Regions from separate parts of the Homo sapiens genome. Here region 1 is linked to region 2. The links are contacts of gene promoters, found by promoter capture Hi-C in human tissues and cell types (Jung and others, 2019). All regions are on one chromosome and are shown on one strand. Each heading gives the region's core, a stretch centred on a gene start or on the middle of the fragment in contact. The rest is flanking DNA. Distances are from core to core; before and after follow the strand shown. Region 1 has its middle 150 kb from the start of LINC02523. Region 2 holds the start of HINT3 (histidine triad nucleotide binding protein 3).

The links. The method cuts DNA at HindIII sites, captures the fragments that hold promoters and counts their contacts. A contact is called where the count stands out against the background at its distance.
Region 1: a contact is called between a fragment that was not itself captured here and the fragment with the promoter of HINT3 in region 2, in 1 of the 25 tissues and cell types used here (H1 embryonic stem cells).

What each region holds. Positions count from the first base shown.
Region 1 is chr6:125,522,453-125,525,152 of GRCh38, forward strand. No RefSeq gene overlaps it. Among named protein-coding and RNA genes, the nearest start is that of LINC02523, 150 kb to the right of the region's middle. The HindIII fragment of the contact is 5,304 bases long and covers 1-2,700 here.
Region 2 is chr6:125,955,391-125,958,090 of GRCh38, forward strand. It overlaps HINT3 (histidine triad nucleotide binding protein 3), which reads left to right and starts at 1,380. Exons shown (of 5, transcript NM_138571.5): 1 at 1,380-1,788. The coding sequence starts at 1,588. RefSeq lists enhancers at 1,393-1,492, 2,553-2,602 and a silencer at 1,663-1,882. The HindIII fragment of the contact is 11,405 bases long and covers 1-2,700 here.

The DNA.
Region 1 (2,700 bases), core at 116-2,615, 430 kb before region 2:
ATTTATATTTGCACTACTGTGCCGTTATGCTGGAAACAGAATTTGTTCTGAATAGATCCTTGCACTTGACTTGGCATTTAATGGAGTGCAATTGTCAGTGTAAGATTTATATAGTTATACCCAAGTAGACGTGAGCAGTCCTGATTTTTTTTCTTTTCCTTTTTTTTTAAATTTTCTTTTTGTTTTTTTAATTTAAGCTTTCTTTAAAGTTCGGGAGTACATGTGCAGGTTTGTTATATAGGTAAATTTATGTCATGAGAATTTGTTGTGCAGATTATTTCATCACCAGGTACTAAGCCTAGTTCCCATTAGTTATTTCTCCTGATCCTCTCCCTCCTCCCACCCTCCACCCTCCAAAAGGCCTTAGAGTGTGTTGCTGCTTCTACGTGTCCATGTGTTTTCATCATTAAGCCCCCACTTATAAGTAAGAACTTGCAGTATTTGGTTTTCTGTTCCTTAGTTTGCTAAAGCAAACTAACCCCAGCTCCATCCATGTTCCTGCAAAGGACATGATCTCATTTCTTTTTATGGCTGCATAGTCTTCCATGGTGTATATGCATGTGGTGTACCACATTTTCTTTATCCAGTCTACCACCGACAGGCATTTAGGTTGATTCCATGTCTTTGCTATTGTGAATAGTGCTGCAATGAGCATACACATGCATATGTCTTTGTAACAGAATAGTTTATATTCCTTTGGGTATATATCCACTAATGAGATTACTGGGTCCAATGGTATTTCTGTTTTTAGGTCTTTGAGGAATCGCTACACTGTCTTCCACAATGGTTGAACTAATTTACACTCCCACCGACAGTGTATAAGAGTTCCTTTTTCCCTGCAACCACACCCGCAAGTCTTAAATTTTTAAATGAACATTTAGGCACCATTACATTTCTAATTAATGATACATTTAGGAGAAGTAAAAGTATTTCCACTGAAGGCAGAAGAAATGTATTTTGAGTTTATACAAAATGAGTAAACCTGAGAGTACAAGATAAAGTAGGAGTGATATTAAAGAGTTAAAATTTAATATATAGTACCCTGAACACACATGCCACTTCTATTCTTTTTTACAAAATAGTTGAAGTTTATGTCTAGAATAAAATTCAAACCAAACATTTGAGGATCCCTGAAGCACTTTGCAGAATTCCTCTAGTGTCTGGCATAGTGCCTGACATAAAATAAGTAATGAATATCTGTTGAATGGATAGTATATTCTAGTTTGAAAATTCATGGGCATCATCTAGCAAAGGTTTCTCAAGACTCTTTTAGCCTCTCAAGGGGAGGTAAAACAGAAAACTAAGTCATTCTGGGCTGCTATCTACCTTTGGTACTTAACTACCATTAAGCTTATTTTTCATGACCATTTTACAATGGAGGTATTTACATGTGTAACTGGAGGTCTGTAAGGAAAGTATCATTATCCCAATATTGTAGCTTATAAAAATCAAGGCAGAATAATACTTACTAGAGTCTATTAATGAGTAAAGTGTGGACTTGTAATTTAGAACCTGGGCATGGGGCCCCATAGGACATGCTGCCCCTCCCTCATCTCTCTGCCCTTGGTACTCTCCACCTCTCCCTCCCCATCTCCCCAGTTTCTCATCTCCCTGATGAGCTAAAAGCATTATATATAATTTAAAGCCTAGTTGAATTTTGGAGTTGGTCAGAAACAGCTATCATGGCTAGTTCACATAAAAGAGGATTGAAATGATAATATGCAGTATATACACTATACATACCATATAATTAACAGTGTAAATAGAAACCATTTCTACACATCGTGTGTATAGAATCAATTTCTGAAGGCTTGGAATAAACTACATTGCCTATCATATCTGAGGATTTCACAGTAAAAGGGCTTTCCTATTGAGAAATGAACAATTATTCTTCCCTCTATAACTTTTAAGAGTTGCTTAAATATTTTAGCTCTCTTTCTCCTAGAAAATGGAGACTGTACTAAACAAATAAACATAGAGTGTTAAAATGTCCCTGCTGATAATTTTACTGAACCTCTGAAAAATCATCTCTGTTGCATAAATAATGCTGGAGACAATAGTCAAGGATCAGGGTTTTTCAGCACACAATGTAGGCTTTGTACAGTGGATGTTTTCCCTGTTTTTTTTTTTTTCTCCTCGATAGAGTGGTAACAAAAGTAGAGCTTTCCCACTTTGTCCCAGAGATGGGGGTTTTAAGTCTATTGAGGGCAACTTTGTGCCTTATCTAAGCCTCTCACCATGGGCAACTTAGGAGGAAAGGCTGGCTTCGTTGGTCCCTGGACAGGAAAGAGGGGCCACTGTGGGGACAAGGAACAGGTCTCTGCTTAAGTGGATCTGACAGCTTTGCATTAAAAAAGATGTTTATCCTTGTTTATGGCATATCCCTTCTCCTTTTATAATTCCCATGATTGGTGTTACTTTTTATAGTAAGCCTGACTGTCTGGGAAGGATCCACATTGTTCCAATGCCTTAGAAAGCAAAGGGAAGGGTGAGAAACCTTCAGAAATGCTATCTGCAGAAGATTCTTCCTTTTAGAATCTACAGAGCAAATGAACTCTTTGTGTGTTCGCTCAAGCACATATATGCAGTATATATAACATGGGCGCTTTTTGAATGGGTGACTTAAATGAAAGAATTATAGCTTTTCTTTATATACTTCTGCAGCTTCTTTGGTATGTTGACTATATTTTCAAATTAATA
Region 2 (2,700 bases), core at 130-2,629:
TGTGCTTATGTCAGTTTGGCTAAAGAAAATTTCATGAAGGAGGTAGCATTGGAGGGGTGGCTTGGAAGGTAGAATTTGGAGTGAAGAGATGGAAACAAGAATATTTGAGAGAGAACTGTGTGAATAAAAGCAGTGATGTGAAGGTGTAGTACAGGCATGGAAATTGTGAATACTAAAATTTGGCAAAACTCTAATGTATTGATTCTGAACTCTGCTTTGGGGTGCTGAAAGGCAGTGAAGCTATTGTAGTGGTTCCCCAAACTACGGGCCAACTACAAAAAGGAATGAAAAATGTCTTGAATGTATATGTACAACAATTCAAAACACATACAACCACTTTTTATTACAACATAAATCCATTAAAAATCATTACTGAATTCCCAATTTGTTATGTATTTTCTAAATCAGCAAATACCAAGGGTGTAACTACTATAGTGAGCTAGTCCAACAAATTTTTTGGTGTTAAAAAAGGAGTGCTGTATGTCAAAAAGGTTGGTGGGTTTTGGAGTTAGACAAACCTTGATCTTAAACTCTGTCACTATTAATTAGTTGTGTGGGACTGGGCAACTCTGAGTTTGGTCCTTCATCTCTAGAGCGGTGGTTATAAAACCAACCTTGCGTTTTTTGACAATTAGAGAAATATATGGCATGTTTTAGATGCTCAGCAAGTGGGAAGTATCACAAAACGAAAAGCTGAGGTCAAATCAGAGTCCACCTTGAACACCAAGCTAAGGAACTGGTACTTTTTCTTTGAGCACATAGTTACAGAAGGTTTTGTCTGAGTGACAGGAAAATCAATAAGTAAGTTAGAAGGTGATTGCGTTGGTCTAGGTGAGGCATTATGAGGCACTGGCATTGAATTTCTGGGATATTTCAGAGTATTGACTATAGGACTCCACATCTACTTGTATATGAGGAATGTGAGATTAAAAAAAAGGTCGCTAGTTTGATCTAACTGTGCTGTTAACAACAATAAAAAGTCAACAGAGATGTAAAGGTCAGTTTTGGACATTTTGAGTTTAAACTCCTACAATTATCGTGGCTGAAAAAGCAGCAAACATGATGTCTGTTGAAAACAAGGCTTTAGGAATTTTGCTCATTCTTTAAAAACCTACGAATTTTAAAAATCAAACTTTAAAAAACTTTTTGTTTTTTTTTTTAAAAAAACGGCAGCGTAATACAATATTTGGACACGCTATACTATGGGCTTTGAAGAACGCCTGTCCAGAACACCCAACAAGCTCCATTATGTCAAACGCTCCCGCGCCTCTGTGATGTCACCACGACGCGCTGGGCGCTCTGCGACTTGGCAGACGTCGTGCGTCATTACCAACGAGGCGCAGGGGTCAGGACGACTCTCGGCAGCGCCATTGCGCGCCCTCTAGTGGCAGCCGGTTTTGAGGCCGGCCTCCGGCTTTGAAGTTCCTCACCGCGTCTCCTTCCCTCTCCCCAAAGCCTGGATCACCGCCCAGCGTCAGGCGAGGGGCGACGTCTCGAGGTAAAACGGAGGAGGTGCGGGACGCGGAGACTGCGCGGGCCCGGTAGCCCTGGAGAGGCCGAGGCTCTAGGCCGCGAGGGGCGGGTGCAATGGCGGAGGAACAGGTGAACCGCAGCGCCGGCCTGGCCCCCGACTGTGAGGCCTCGGCGACTGCAGAAACTACGGTTTCCTCAGTGGGGACCTGTGAAGCCGCTGGCAAGTCACCAGAGCCCAAGGACTACGACAGCACCTGCGTGTTCTGCCGGATCGCGGGGCGGCAGGACCCGGGCACCGAACTCCTGCACTGCGAGGTGGGCGGCGACGCGCGGCCGGGGGTGGGTGAGGACCTGGCCGCCCCTCGGAGCTCCGGCAGGGAGGCCTCGCCGTTGTGGAGCGGGTGCAGAGGATCCCGATCGCTACTCAGCTCGCAGAGGCAGGGCCGCTCTGTGTGGATGGGGCTCGGGGAAGCTGGGGATACGCCCACTACGGGCCTTTCTGCAGGGTCCGGGTGCTGATGACAGACTCACTCCTAGGGGACTGACAGGCAGTGGCTCCAGCGGTATCTTTGCTGTTCCCAGGGGCAAAGAGTGAATGACAGGGCCGAATGCTTTGGCCTATGTTTGCAGGTACCCAGGTAGTTGGTACAAATAACATTTTGTGGCCTCTGCTTTTATTACAAGGATTCTTCTCCACCTTCAAGATACTGATTTTAAATCCTGCACACTCTAATACCGATACTGATGAGAAAACTAGTAGAAAATAGGTAATGATAATTGTGGAAAGCTGTTTGTTAGATTGGCAGAAAATAGGCTGGAGGGAGTGGGTCTGAGGTCAAACTATTATTGAATTGCCTCTGAATTCCACTGTCAGTTGGGATGCGTGGACATTTTCAGAGCATGAAGACTTTGCCCAGATATTTTTAAACGGATAATCTGGCACACACTTTATTCTGTTGGTTTTACTTGTCCATATAGAAACAACTTTTTGAGAGAATTAGCTCCAAAGATTGTGTCTTTTGTAGTAAACATTCCTTTATTTTTTAAAAAATAAATATAATTCCTTCTAAGCACCTTGTTTTGGAGGTTTTTGAGCAAGATAAGGGACAGTCTGTGTCCCGATTTTACAATCTAAAGGGCGGAATGTATACAGAGGAGGTAGCCAGTTACAATGCCTCGTGCTGTGGTCAGGTGATTTTACAGTATTTTGTAAGCTTGTGGGAGGAG